3 separate regions of the Homo sapiens genome follow, and regions 1 and 3 are each linked to region 2. The links are contacts of gene promoters, found by promoter capture Hi-C in blood cells and fetal thymus (Javierre and others, 2016). All regions are on one chromosome and are shown on one strand. The core of a region is centred on a gene start or on the middle of the fragment in contact, and the rest is flanking DNA. Distances in the headings are between cores, read along the strand shown. Region 1 holds the start of AKAP7 (A-kinase anchoring protein 7). Region 2 holds the start of EPB41L2 (erythrocyte membrane protein band 4.1 like 2). Region 3 overlaps EPB41L2 (erythrocyte membrane protein band 4.1 like 2).

Region 1 (5,139 bases), core at 1-2,500, 72 kb before region 2:
GTTAATAGTGTCCGAAAATGGATGAAAGGAGGAAGTAACCTCCACAAACATCTTAAACTTTATGAGTAAGGAAAATATACAGATATGCTAACAGGATCCTGAATTGCAAAGCCACGGCACTTAAACAAGGAACTGGAGTATGGCTCTTTTCTCCTTAACAATTTCCATTCCCATGCATTTCCTAAATGCAAAAACTCACTGTCATCATTCACTTAACAATTGTCAACATATTCACACGATTAACTGCTATTTATATAGTACACTTTAACGTTTTTATGCTTTTTATACTCTTCTATGAGTTTATCCTATGAAACTCTTGCAGAGGAGCACCTTTTCTCTAATTGGTTTGCGGACCCTTTTACCGAAAGTCCACCCCTAACTCGCTCTATCACAAAGTTCAGTTCACAACAAACGCTGACCTAAACTGGAAATTCATTCCGGGCGCTAGTGTAGACTTGGCGCCAGTTTTAAAAGCGGTCATGTCCAAACCTGGCAGAAAATCCTAAATGAGACAGTATGGTGGTTCGGGTGCTTAATATTTGTGATATAAGATAAAATCGAAATTTTACTAGGTTTTGTTTACATTTACCCACATCAACACCGTCGGAAGGAATGTGTACTGGCATGAACTTTGTGCAAAGGGTCACAGGATGAGAAAGGGAGAAAGAAAAGTGAAACTCGGGGATGGGCTCATACCCCCGCCTCCTGTCGGACCCACAATGCGTGCATTAAAACGCTTCGCTACAGGCAGCACTGATGTACACCCCGGTTGCACCGGGCTTCTCGGTGCTACCCTGAGTCCTTTTGGGAAGGAGGGAGACTCGGAGAAGGGCCGGCGCGGGTCAGGCCCTCCCAAAGTTCGAGCGCAGAGCAGGCCCAGGCCCCCGCGGCTCCTGTCGCCCCCGCCCCGGCCCGCTGGACAGCCCGGTCTCACCCGCTTCGGGGCGCTCCATGGTCGCGGCGCATGCGGGCGGCGCGTCTGGGCTGGCGGCAGCGGCGGTGGCGGGCCGCGTCCCGGGGCTGGAGGCGAGGCCGAGGCGGAGGCCAGGGCGGGGCTCGGGGCCTGAGGGCGGTGCGCTGGGCCGGCGCGGGGTCCAGCGACAGGCTGCGGGGGCCCGGGCGGCGGAGGCCAGGCCTGCGGAAGCGCGGAGCTTCCCAAGCCGCAGCCCCCGCGGCAGCGGCAGCAGCGGCGGCGGCAGCCGCAGCAGCCGCAGCACCCGCATGCCAGGCCGGACGCCGGAACAAGCCAGAAGGGGCCGACCCGAGTCGCCGGTGGTACCCGGATTCGGGCGAGAGGCGCGGACGCGCTCGGGCAGGGCGGGGGAAACTAGGGCCGGCGACTGCGGCGTCACGGCAGCCCAGGTCGTCTCGACTCTGCAATGCGACGCTGGGTCTTCGCCTGCCTGCCGAGCCCCGCGGCCTCCGACGGCCTTTGGCAGCCCTCATTTATTTCCCGTGGCGCAGCCTTGCCCCTCCCACGCTTTCAAGGGCGAGATTGGGACTAGGATGAAAGAATTCTCTGGCCTGGTGTCTTTTGAGAATCCATGTGCTTAGTTTTGCAATCAGGGTTCTGATTGCAGAATATTTGGGAAGAGCGAAATGTACAAGAACGAGACCTTGTACTTCTGTATAATGAGATACTTTATTTACCTTACTTTTAAAAACTGCAAATTGTGACAAAGTCTCTAATTTTTAACAATGATGTTATGTTTAGACATTAAGAGGAAACCAGTTGCTGGTTCTTGTAGTATAAGGTACTGCAGTGAGTAAATTGGGAGAAAAAGAAATTTACTTAGTTTAAAAAAATAAAAACCTTTCACTTGAAACGGAATGCTATTGGGATTGGTTTTAGTGCGAAGAAACCAGGGGTTAAGAACATTAGGTGCATCCGTCCACAAATTAGCGCCTTTCGTGAATAATAACACTTCGCTTATGTTGAATGCATCGTAGAATAGGGATGGAAGAAAAGAAGACCCCTACACAGCCACAACAGCTGGCGTAAAGGCTGCACACTAGAAGTCGGCAAACTAGTTACTCTGATTTTCAAATAATTCTAACACGTTGAGTTTCTGATGCCCATTTATGGGCTGGTAGGAAAGTACAACCAGTTCCCCTAATATTTATTTAATGCTTGAGCTCTGTGCTGAGGATGTGCAGGTAAGACAGGTCTTTTACTTATGGAGCTGATCATATAATAGCAGAGAAAGAAACATAAGTAACTGCGGAAATAAAAGCTGCAAAAATGTGGTCCACATTCATAGTGAAGAGGATGAGAATATGCCACCCCAAATATGCCACTTCAGCATAAGGATTATTCTTGAGCTTAAAACAGTTCAGAAACTAAAGACTCAGGAACAACTTTGACCTCCCCCTTTCTGCCTAAAAGCAGGACATAAATTTCCCTTCGTAAAGGTGACATAAATTTTTATTTTTAAAGCTTTACCAGGCCGGGCCCAGTGGCTCACGCTTGTAACCCCAACACTTTGGGAGGTCAAGGCGAGTGGATCACTTGAGTCCAGGAGTTTGAAACCAGCCTGGGCAACATAGCAAAACCCTGTCTCTACCAAAAATACAAAAATTAACCAGACGTGGTGACCCATGCCTGTAATCCCAGCTACTCCAGAGGCTGAGGTGGGAGGATCGCTGGAGCCCAGGAGGTGGAGGTTGCAGTGAGCTGAGATGATGCCATTGCACTCCAGTGTGGACAACAGAGCCAGATCCTGTCTCAAACAAACAAACAAACAACAAAGCTTTACCACTCACCCATACCAGAAAGAGGAGAATGAGTCTTACCTGCATAACAAACCCATACATTTTCTAGTAACCTTCCCATACTGCAAAAAGGCTAAGCCCCCTTTTCCTTTGTCTAGCCTCTCCACACTTTATCATCGTTAAAATGGTATAGAAGCCCCCAGTTCTAACTGCCTCTTCGGGCTTTTAGTTCTTTCCTGTGAAGCATCTATGTGCATGTGTAATAATCCTTTTCTCGTCTTAATCTGTCTTTTGTCAATTTAATTTACACAGTCCAACCTAGTGAACTAAATGGGCAGGAGAAAGATTTTTCTTCCCCTGTGGTGTGTACCAAGAGATATATGGAAGTTTCATTCTCTTACCTAAGCAGAGGTAACAGCCCAAATGCCACATATTTTTCACCACCAGTATTATGAATACAGAGTCTTATCAACACCTACCATGTGGAGGAACATTTTAATTACCCAAGTCTGAAAAAGGAATTTTTCACAGAGCTTCTTTTAGAAATGACAGGGAGAAAGGGAAGTACAAGGTGAACCTTGGACATCTTCTTGTGCCAAAAAGCAAAGACAAATGGGGACTATCAAAAACACAAGGACTAGCGAGAAACAGCTTTCTTTGAGCAAATGGGAGATAATCTGACATCATAAAAGGATAACACCTGTAATTATTGTAACATACTGAATACAAAATCTATATACCCATAATAATACTCAAAAAATGAGGAAGAAAAACTAGTAGGCCACCATTAAAGGTGACAAGTACGCAATTCCTTAGTCTCCTTACTCTAAAAATTAAAGGGAAAGAAAGATTTACCATGACTTTTTAGAAGTAGTAGTATGGGAAAGCTGCTTTGCACAGAAGAATTTTCAATAATAAATATAGGAGACATAAAATAATTGGAAAATTACCATTTTGCCACCACAACTGATAACTGATTGATGCAAAGATCATCAATATATTCTAAAACCATTACATGAAAGGTTAATGTGGACCGAAATATTTATAAGTTGCCAAAATACTACCCCCCACAAAATACTTGGTAATTGCTCAGGAGAGAACATATTTTTACTCCATGTAAATAAACCTGGTTGTCACCACCTTTATCGTGATTAAACTCAGCATCATTAATGGTGGACAATCTGTGAAAGCTCCTGTGAAAGCTATATCATCACTGCAAGGTAGTCTTGCCATAAATATTTCACCTGAAGCTGCTAAGGCTTTAAATATAATTTTCAGATTTCCAGAAATACAGGAGATAGAGGTACAAGTAAAATAACATGATGAGGAAAGAATCAGACCAATCCAGAATGTGTGACATTCTAGAAAATAATTGGCTCAGGCTTTTCAAAATCTCGGTGGGGTGTTGTGGTCCAGGAACAGTGTGGTAGCTTAAAACTAAACCCTTCCAATCCAGTTGTTTTGGCACTGTGCCAGTGTATATTGTCCTCTGGGGAGAAAAGGGCTGTGTACTAATAGTCAGGGAGGAATGGGCAGAACATACGGAGGGAGAGGGAAGTGTGGACCAGAGGATCCATGCCCTCATGAGTCGTGCTGCAGGTGAACCTTCGTTAAAGCATTGGGCAACCTGGTTCTTTTTTGCTTTCATAAAACAAATTAATACCTATGAATTCATCTTTTTTTTTTTTTTCTGAGACGGAATCTCGCTCTGTCGCCCAGGCTGGAGTGCGGTGGCGCAATCTCGGCTCACTGCAAGCTCCGCCTCCCGGGTTCCCGCCATTCTCCCTGCTCTACTTCCCGAGTAGATGGGACCACAGGCGCCCGCCACCACGCCCGGCTAATTTTTTGTATTTTTTAGTAGAGACGGGGTTTCACTATGTTAGCCAAGATGGTCTCGATCTCCTGACCTCATGATCCGCCCGCCTCGGCCTCCCAAAGTGCTGGGATTACAGTTGTGACCCACCGCGCCTGGCCGAATTTATCTATTTAATTGATTTTCAATATTAACTGGTTCTGTCAATAACCAAACATCCTATAGGGATTTTTAAGATTTTTAAGCCTCTATGTCAGTTTGCCGATTATCTCTAACCTTAACTCATTCTCAGCACCATTTAGCAGTTATTAAATAGAGTTTGTTTCCCACATCAGTACATTGAACTGTCCTACTGCTGTCACAGGGGACCGCAGCTATGGTCAAGATCAGTAGGAACTGTCAGTGACCTCCTTTGGGGAACAGTCCCTGACCCCACCCTTCTACTTGGGTTAGGTACTCCACCTGAGGGCTTTAATACTCCTTGTGCCCGCTCTGACCATCCCTTTTGCCACATTTTTCTGTTTCATACATTAGACTTTACGCCACTAGAAGGCAAAGACTATGTTTTAAAGTCTTCGTATTCCCAAATGCATAGAGATTTCTCAATGAATAGA
Region 2 (5,119 bases), core at 1,249-3,748:
GCCTGTGGACCACGTAAAGGAAGGGCAGGTCCTCAACCCAGAGCCACTCCAACCTGGTTTGGGCTTGGCACACAGAAGGCACAAAGATAAAATGATGACTCATGGATATAGTGAGATCAAGCTCTTCCAGAGGCCACGCCTATGGGGGTGAGTTGGTAAGTAAGGGCACTAAGGAGGTCCTGGGTACATTTCTAGTCCATACTTCCAGACTAACTTTGCTTGCACATAGTGCCCAGGATTGAGGCTATTATGGTAAATTTGGATGTGGTAGCTCTCAGGACTAGTACCTATATTCTTCTCTTGTTCTCTGTGTCAGTCCTTTGCCTGTTACTACAGTGTGTCTAGCAGGAAGACCCAATCTTGTTCTACCTAGAGTGTTTTCCTGGGGATTAACATTCTGCCCTTGAACTGCAGCCTGGTAGTCCTGACAGTGCTTCCGCCTGCCTGAGTCTTTGGATGTCACCTATTCCAGGACTTTGTCCTTCTTTCTGTTCAAACCCCTCTTCTCTTCTTGTTAGACTTCCCTGGTTGTCTGGACTACCACCTGTTGTTTGCTAAATCTCTATGATGCCACTTCCATCAGTTTTCTTCACTTCCTTATAGCTTCTGGGACTTGATTTTTCTGCCCTCAGTTCCTGCTAGGTCCTCACTGAATCTGTTCCATTCCATTAAAATGCCAGGGCTATGTAAGGCTGTGTCCAAAAACAGAGTTCAATTCTTCTTTCACACAATAGCCTTTATACATTTGACAACCTTTTTATCACCTTTAATCATCTCTTTAGGCTAAATCTTGCTGGTTCCCACATTTTCAAGGTCACCCATTTATGGTTATAATTTAGCTTATCAATATTTTCTTTTGGAGGGAAAAATTTCTTCTTAAGAGGTGGCATATAGGAGTGATTCATGTACTTCAACGCAGAGTATAGTAAGCATATCCTTTCTTATGAGAAGGGCATTATATTTTATTAACTATGCCTATATTTATGTTATTTTGCACTAGCATTTTAAAGGGGGCTCCATCAGGGTGGTTCAATGTTTTATGGGCCCAAAAGCTTATATGACTTTAGGGACTCTTTAAAAAACACAAAATGAAATACAAAATTATAAAGTTAGTTTCAAGGCTTGTGAAAATGAGAGATCCCGAAGTTTGTTTCATTAGTTTCGTTGTAAATCTGCTGCATATTTCTTATTATGAGAAAATAATAGTATTTTCTCATTAAATTCCCAGGTCTCCTTTACCAGAATTGCTGTCTAATCAGATTTCTGCTCTGTTTTAGCACACCTTATAAAATTTAACTTGTATACTTAGCATATGGGATTGTGATTAAATTAATACATGTAAGGGACTTAGAACAATGCCTAGCACATAAAGCACACAATCAACCTTAACTATTATTATTTGTATTATTTACTAGAAGGACCTTGGCAAATAATTTATCTTCCCAAATCTTTTTGATGTAATGGAGCTCAAACGTGCCTGCCTTTTTCATAGGGTGATTGTGAGGATCAAATGATGATAAAATATGTGAATGTATTTTGTTAACTGGAAGGTATTGTTACTGAGGTTTCATTTGACATTGTTAATTTTGGAAAAGGTTCTGTTTAGGAAAGAAAGGGAGACGACTTTGGCTGTGGTGGAATCACTAAAGACCTCAATAAAAGTGGGAGGAGTAAAAGGGATAAGAGGTGCGTGTGAGGCAGATGCTGGAGGCAGTGAGCTGGACACGTTGTTTGACACCAGCTTGACGTGCAAACCTTCAAAAGATGAAATATATTGAATCTGAAACATATTGACCTCATTGTACAAAAGAAAAGAACCAGAAGGGTAGCGTGTGTGTGCTTGTGGCTTTCCACAATTTAGCCCCAAACTAGGTTTTTTCCAGACTCTTCTTCACCCGTGGTCATGCTCTGCAATCCAGATTCCCAGGCCTCTGCCCAGAGAAATCCTACTTACTCTGGGGAGGCCTTTCCTCCACGGGGTTTCCCCAACCCCTCCTGTCCCTCCCACAGGAAGAATAAATGGTTCCTTTTCAATGCCCTTCCTGTGAAAGCACTTTTTCCACTCTAGACTGAGGGAGACCCAGTTTTCCTTATTCTGCATCTCCAGGCTCTGCTCCAGTGTTTACCTCTAGGAAGGCGCTCAGTGAAGGTTTAGTCAGCAAATGCACTTTGAATAAATAACTTTTAAAAGTTGAGAGGACATTTAAGGCCGGGAATCGCAGTTGAGAACGCCTTGCCCAGGCGCATTAGCTGTCATCCGGGCTGCCCTGAGGGCGAAAGACGTCCTCCACCCCCGGGTCTCCGCGGCCGCGCTTGCCGAATCCCGCGGGAAAGGTCCCCCGCCCGCGCAGGGGCGGGGCCTGGGCGTCGGGGGCGGGACCGCCCGCGGGGGTTTCCGCGCCGGGGGCTCGTCCGGCGGGGTCGCGGGAGGGGCTTCCGCCGCGAGGGGGCGGGGCCGGCCCTCAGAGTCCTCTGACGGCCCCAGTCAGGGAATTTCAATTTGAAACCTAGCGGAGGGAGGAGGCAGGCGCGGCTGCCGGCGGCTGGGACTGAAGAGGGACGGGTCCCGCGGCGAGCGAGCTCCTGAGGTACGGCGTCGGGGTAAGGAGGCGTGCGGGGCTGCACGGGCCGGGCGACTGGTCAGTGTGGGGTTGCAGGGGCGGCTCAGATTTTTCCTCTGGCTGCAGCTGGGAAGCTGATTCCGGGCAGGAAGCGGTGGCGGGACGGTCCCACCGGGATGGGGGGCGGGGAGAGGGGGCCCGGCTTTGGGATTTTCTGCGGCTCCCTCTCTCCTTTCCTTCCCGGTCTCTGCCCGACCCGATTCTTGCCCGGGGGTCCGGGTCCTGTTGCTCCGGGCCGGATCCCGGCTTCGCTGCTCCCCGCGGTCCCCCTCTTCCCTCTTCCGGGGGACCGGGGCCGCGTCCCGGCGGAGCCAGGAAAGGCGGGGGCACGGGGAGGACGCCGTCCCCCCCGGGGTGCCGTGGGCTCAGGTCACGCGTCCGGGCCCCGTGGAGCAACAGCGGGAAAAATCCGGCTCCATCCCCCCCGCGGGGAGGGGGTCGGCCGCGGCGTCGCCCTTCAGGAGGAAGGTTTTAGGAGGGGAAGCGCGGGCCGGCCGCGCGCGTGGGGACTGCGGGAAGCCGGGCGAGGGCGGCGCGCCAGCCCCACGCGCGGTGCGGGTCGGGCCCGCTGTAGGCTCGCGTCCGCGCCCCCAGCTGCCGCCTGCGCCGTCTGGGAGCTGCGGAGAGGGACGCGTGTTTCGTGCTCCGATCCTTACAATTCCCACACCCAGGCCATCTCACCACAGATGGCTTGTTTTTTCTCCTCCTGCGCCTGGGGGCCGAGGGTTGGGAGCATTTTTAGGTGAGCAGCGGGGAAGGGCGAGGAGAACCTAAAGGAGCGCGACAGGGTTGAAGTCGGCGTCTGGGGACGCCATCCCCAGGCGCAGACGCTGCCCCCAGCAGCCTGAGGTCTGTGGTGGGACATCAGTTATGCTTCTCTAGATCGCTCACCTCCCCTGAGGTCAAGTTTTTTTTTTTATATATATGTATAAATAAAATGAGGTTTGGTGAGAAGAACTACTGCCTAGAGTCTATTATTTTGGGGAGGGGTCTGCGTATGGAGCCCTCCCTACGGACCCGGGTAGTCTTTCATTGAATTGCCCCATCAACACCACAGCTGCCCTTAATTTTAAGATCCCTGGGTGGATGGGAGAGAAGGTGGAATCTAGAGGAGCTGTGGCTATATTTTCGCTTTTCTGAATCACATCTTTCCCCAGTTTCTTGAACTTCTTGCCTCTGAAATGGCATGTGTGTGCCAGGCGTCTTGTTCCTCTTGTTACTGTTATTTAAGCTGTTTTAAAAAAACGACTTTCGCGGTTTTCCCCTCAGTTTTTCAGTCTTTATTTCCTCCCCCACCCTACGTTTTTATTGTTTTTTTCAACGGAATACATTATTTATCTGGTCTCTTTATAACGCTGTTGAGAATTAGCATTTCAGTTGGTGTTCTGTCAGATTTCACCTTGGACTTAGCAGTTGAGGGAAACTGAGTCAGTTTCTATGCTGCAGGGGCTAGGATTTAGAATTCTCAAGCTTTGAACAGGTTTCAGTGGGGGAACGAATAGTGCTTAATCCTATTCAGTTTCCCTTTGCAGGCTCATTGCTGTGAGAAATCACTGGGTGGCTGTTGCAGCCACTGATGGGGGCTGCATTGCAATGCAATCTTGAATTGTGATAAGGGCCAACTGGCTCCATCCGTTAGGCTGTGAGTTTGACACAACTTTTGAAGAGCTATGCTGTGTCACCTGTCAGAGCTCGAGTGGTCATTCTTTTAATTCAATTTAAGAACCACCATCAAACTTCAGATATCTATTCTTTGGAGGTTATTGGAGAACTGTACAAGTGGTAATGGCTTGGAACAATGGTGTGGATTTAGCGCTAATTTAATCCTATCCTGTCTTCCTCACTTCTTGGGCAGAATTCCCACTGAAGTCAGTAGTGGTCTTGTGTGCAGACAGACTGCCGAGAACAAGAGGCTGCTCATTTAGAGTAACGGGAAGGGACGGTTTCTTTCCTTTTAAAACATCCCTCTGTAAGAAAGACTTAGTCATAACAGTTCTTTAATCTTTAACCACTAGTCCAAGTAGTTGAGAGCACTTTTTGCAAAAACCTTCGAAAGAAAATTCGTGGATGAATTGAGCCACGTCCCTCGAACTCTTCATATATCTACGTTGCATGGTGATCCTTAAAAAAGATTAAAAGTGATTTTAAAAAATCAGTTAAAGCTATAATTTCAGTAAAATTTTTCCTAACTTTTGTAAAAAATGTAAACTGCCAGGGAGCATTTTGTAGCAACTAAGTGTGTATATTTCAAATCTGAAATTTAAGTCCAAGTAGAAAGAAGCAAATTTAATTTAGGGGATGAATCTGAAGAGAGGCCACCAAAAAAATAACCATCTAAATATAAAAGAAGGAAGTTCAGATATCTCTTGCTGTTTTTCAGGAGATAGCTTTAGGGCAGTTTGCTCACTTTCATACCTGTTCTTAACGATTTACTGACTGCCTGGGTCCATCATTAGATAATGCTAGCACTTGGAGGTTTCCAAATGAGTTTTGTGCTG
Region 3 (4,666 bases), core at 2,050-4,549, 86 kb after region 2:
GATAAGCTGAACAGAGGAAGTTGCTTTTATAGACAGAAAAGAGCTGACGGAAGCAGAAACAGAGAACAAAAGCATGTTGGTTGTTTCAAAGTGACTTTTCTTATAGTGTTAAAACAGAGGGGACTTCCTTATCATGCCTACCCCTTTGGATTGGTTGTTGTGAATTCCTTTCTTCCTTTTTAAACAACTGCCCCGTTTCAGAGTTTAGTTTGATTACCTAGCTCCATTCTGGTGTGGTATGGTCTGCTGGAGCCTAGTGCAGGAGGCTAGTCCAAAACAATGGCCTCCTATAAATTTCATTTAACAAAATGCTCCAAAGTTGTTAGATCCACCCCACCCCTGCCCCTCCCCCAATCTTTCTAGCTTCCTTAAACCCCTTCCTCTCCCAGCCGATGTCTATTTCCCATTACTGTTCTCTTTGGCCTGTGGGGTCAGGATGTTCCTCCTGCTATTGAAGGTTAAACTCTTCTCTGTGGTTTTGATCCTTTTCCTCCATCTTTTTTGAACTACATGCCATTCATTTTCCTTTCTTTCTACTTTGTGTGTTGAACCTCTCCTCTCTATCTCTCCCACCGAAAGACTGCACCAAACAAAAACAGCCTAAACATACATCTCCCCTGAATCCTAGACTTTTTGTAGTTATTACTTGCCTTTTCTTCATTGCTAAACTTCAGATATTAATTTACACTTACCTCTTTCCCTCCCCTCTTCTGATATTTTATCTGTAGCCATTAGATTTTTCTTCTCCTAGCCACTGAACTTGCTCTTTGAGGTTAGTAGCCATCTTATGACCCTTTTAACCCTTATTGTTCCCTGAAGCAATCTGCCCTTGCCCCTGTTGGTCATGCCTCCCCGTTAGACTCTTCTTTCTCGTCAGTAGTTTCTTGTTTTCCTTTCTCTTAATGCTGATCCTTCTTAGCCTCCTTGATAGGTTCTTTGGTCTCTCTGCCTGGAGATTTTTGATGAGCATTTATCCTACTGCTTGTTTTCTCTACAGTTTCATCTACCTCTGATACCATTGATTGGCTGAGCAGTTCCACATTTCAGTCTGGAAACCAGGCTCTGTCATTCAGACACATACCTTCAACCATCTTCGGATTTCCACCTGGATGTCACACATTTTCAGCCCAGATGTATTCAAAGTGGAAGCTTTTCCTTCCTTCCTTTCTGTTTCTTACTTTGTTTGGAAGTCTCTTTCTAACTTCATGGTACCACTATCTAACCTTTGACTCACAGGAACTTGGGAGCTTTATTTTTCATTACTCCCACAATCCAATTAATTATCAAGTCCCATTCATTTTATCCATTAAATATTTATTGATACCATCTCTTCATTTGCATTCTTATTGCTTCTATCTTAGTCTCCTGGATCCCTGGAACATCATCTTAACCAGTTTCCTTTTTTTTTTTTTTTTTTTTTGACAGAGTCTCGCTCCATCATCCAGGCTGGAGTGCAGTGGCACAATCTTGGCTCACTGCAGCCTCCACCTCCTGGGTTCAAGCAATTCTCATGTCTCAGCCTCCCAAGTAGCTGGGATTACAGGCGTGTGCCACTTTTTTTGTATTTTTAGGCTAATTTTTATATTTTTAGGAGAGATGGGGTTTTGCTATGTTGGCCAGGCTGGTCTCAAACTTCCGACCTCAAGTGGTCAACCCACCACAGCCTCCCAAAGTGCTGGGGTGACAGGCATGAAACACCACACCCGGCCAGTCAGTTTCCTTTCATTGTGTCAGTTGGTCTCATGTGGCTGCCAAAGTCATCTTCCAGAAATACAAAGTTAATAGCATTTTCTTATTGCCTGCAGAATAGAGTAAAAACATCTGAGCTTAGCATATTGATCATGCATTATTTGGGTGTTGCTTCCCTTGTCCTGTCTCCTCCACTCCCCACCCCTGTGTTCCAGGCACTTGAAGTTCTCAGTGTTCTCTACAATGCATTTATCTTTCATGATTCTGTGTCCTTCACTTACTGTTCCCACGGTGAAGAGTGTGCTTCTACCCACTTATAATAAGCCCAGTAAGCTCCTTCTTATCCTTCAAGGTCAGGTCAAGTGTCACCTCGGGAAGCATTCTTCCTTCATCAAGTCTGTTAAGTGCTAAATTGTTTATGCTTCCATTATAGCTCTTATTCCCTTTGTAGTTAGCTATTTAAATGCCCTGCTCTCACACTGCTGGAGCCACATTTTATACAGGTCTGTGTCCTCAGCAGCTATCAGCAAGCACAAAGCAATTCCTCATGGAATGAATGGATCTTTACAAAACCCAAAAGTACAGTATTAAAATCAAGATTTCATGGGCAGAGGTAATGGTGAGTATAATGGCTTGATATTAGATATTTTTTATTTATTGTTTTGAGTAGGTGTGGTTGTGGATTGAGAACATCTTGGCACTTGTGGTTAGGATTTTCTAATTCAAATTTAGAGAGTTAGGTTTTGAAAGTGAAGCGACAGAGCTGTAGTCTCAAATTATGGAGAGCTAATAAAGTTATGAAGGACTGGAAGTACACTGGGTTCTCAACAAGTGGCCACACCATTGCAGATCATGTATCAGGCAGAAGGAGGATAGTGAGACAGGTGAAGTGAGGAGAGGGCCCCAGATTGGGGCTGTACCTCCCCACCACACTCTGGGTTTGTAGCTGGGCATTGCTTATTACAATACACCTTAATGTTTCCCCAGCTTGCCCTGGTAGAAGCAGCATTCAACTTTATACAACATGTTTTTTGATAAAAGCTTTGTGTTTACACGTTTGATGTTTATATGGTTCTAGCAGAGCCTCTTGGAATGGTGGTGGCTGTTTTAAAGTAAAGGAGAGAAAAGAAAGAAGGGAAATTATAGGGGATGGGTTAGGTAGGGATAGAATTTTCCTTCTACAAATTGAGAAAGAAATAGATACATTGGATTGGTAGGAAATTATTATACATTAATGTTTGCTTTTTAAAAATAAAGTTAAACCATAATGATACCTTCCACCACTTTTAGGGGAAAAGGCGTAGATGAACCTTTTGACCATGGAAATTCTGTGTTTAACAGTAAATTGCATTCATTTAGTGTTTTGCACTTTACCAGTAGCTATTATGATTCTTTTTTGATCTTTAAAACAATCCCATTATATAGGTAGGTTAGCAGCTGCTACTTTTATGTTATACGTGTAGCTAACTGGCAACATGGGAGCATATCTCAAGCTGTTTGAGGACGTTTGATGTTCCTTAAGGTTAAGAAGAGTAGATAATTTCTTGACAATTGCCCTTTTATTTTTGGAGACTTAGAATTTTGGGGGAGGAGGGAGGTTATGGCATTTTTCATGAGTACAGAAGTTGGAGCAGAGCTGGGGAGCATTGTAGATCTCTTGGATTCCTAGTCTTAGGGCTGTTTTGTTTCTTCTGGCCCTTGGACAACAATGAAGGGTCTCTATTCTTTTTTTCTTTTTTCTCTCCTTAACAGTGTGTCTCCCCTTCTCATCCAGGCAGGACAGTTTGCTACAGGAAAAGGCATTGAGATTATTAGTAAGAATCTGACATCTATCCTGGTGAGATCTTGCTACTGATTTGCTATGTAAATAATCTAACTGCTGGGCCTTAGATTTCCCATCTAATTAAAGGCAAGAGGTAGAGGTACATGAACATTGAGATCCTTTTAGCTCTGAACTACTTTGATTCTTTACAAATTCCATTTTGCTCAGTCATATGTAGAGTATTATACAGCTGCTAGCAAGATTGTTGTTTCTGCTTTGTATGTAGTGGACTTTGTGGTAGGTGCTTTTGTTTTATTTCTTTCATCCCTAAGGCAAGGTGGGTGTCATTATGACCGAGTGGTAGCATCTGCTCCTTCAAAGTGTGAGAGAAGAATGATCTTATAATTGTAAGCTTTATAACGCTTTCTTTGACCACCCAAAGGAGGTGACCATTTCCTTTGTGCCCTTCTTGTACCTCTCTTACAGCCCTTATCACATATGGTGTAATGATTTGTTTATGTGTCTGACTTGCCTGCTAGACTGTAAATGTCCAGTAGATTCTTGTGGGCAAGAACTTTCCCTAGGTCTTTAGGGCCTAGACCAGTGTCTGGTGTAAAGCAGGAATGCAGCACATATTTCTTAGACATAAAATAGAATGAAAATAATACAGTTTAATGTACCTGCTGGATTACTATACTTGTCTGATTGTGTAATTTAAAAAGTGGTGCTTTTGACTTTTGTAGTTAATTAAAAGCAGACAAGAAGGATTTGTTAAGAGTTTTATCCTAATACTTTTTAGATGCTTCCTTGGTTCAAAACAGTAACTTTTTGATTAGAGATTCTCAGCCACCACTCTTTTATTCTTTTGTCCATTTTCCTCCTTCTGTACCTGCTTCCACTTTCTCTCTATACCCCTTGTAAAAATCTGGGGTCATGCAGTATCTTTCTTTCCTAGAGTCCCATAAATCTACAGTACTTTTCAACATTACATCTTAAAAATGTAATTGTTTTTAATGTAATTGAACATATGAGTCTAACATTGCTAAGATGTCTGGTAGGGAAGAAACTTTGCAGGTGACGCATGTGCAGTTGTATACATTATTCTGGTTTAGAGCCTGAGAGAAGTTAAACTGTGGTATGTGGTCAAAGAAGAACTTGCACATTAGAGCCAAGGTGCTAGTGAAAAAAATTAGTTTTTCTGCCTACATCAGATAT

The links. Contacts are between HindIII fragments. The CHiCAGO score rates a contact against its expected background, and 5 or more counts as called.
Region 1: the fragment with the promoter of AKAP7 here is called in contact with the fragment with the promoter of EPB41L2 in region 2 in 5 of 17 cell types (monocytes, neutrophils, naive CD8 T cells and 2 more); the score reaches 8.4 in monocytes.
Region 3: a fragment that was not itself captured here is called in contact with the fragment with the promoter of EPB41L2 in region 2 in 1 of 17 cell types (endothelial precursors); the score reaches 5.2 in endothelial precursors.

Annotation. Positions count from the first base shown.
Region 1 is chr6:131,131,578-131,136,716 of GRCh38, reverse strand. AKAP7 (A-kinase anchoring protein 7) reads right to left here and starts at 1,250. Exons shown (of 8, transcript NM_016377.4): 1 at 935-1,250. The coding sequence starts at 953. RefSeq lists enhancers at 623-682, 1,119-1,619 and silencers at 943-1,052, 1,203-1,292. The HindIII fragment of the contact is 7,096 bases long and covers 1-2,439 here.
Region 2 is chr6:131,060,624-131,065,742 of GRCh38, reverse strand. It overlaps EPB41L2 (erythrocyte membrane protein band 4.1 like 2), which reads left to right and starts at 2,498. Exons shown (of 20, transcript NM_001431.4): 1 at 2,498-2,588. LOC105378004 (a long non-coding RNA gene) reads right to left here and starts at 2,340. Exons shown (of 3, transcript XR_942993.3): 1 at 2,127-2,340. RefSeq lists silencers at 2,262-2,601, 2,942-3,041. The HindIII fragment of the contact is 3,039 bases long and covers 1,055-4,093 here.
Region 3 is chr6:130,976,247-130,980,912 of GRCh38, reverse strand. All of the region lies in intron 1 of EPB41L2 (erythrocyte membrane protein band 4.1 like 2), which reads left to right. Among named protein-coding and RNA genes, the nearest start is that of EPB41L2, 85 kb to the left of the region's middle. The HindIII fragment of the contact is 1,133 bases long and covers 2,733-3,865 here.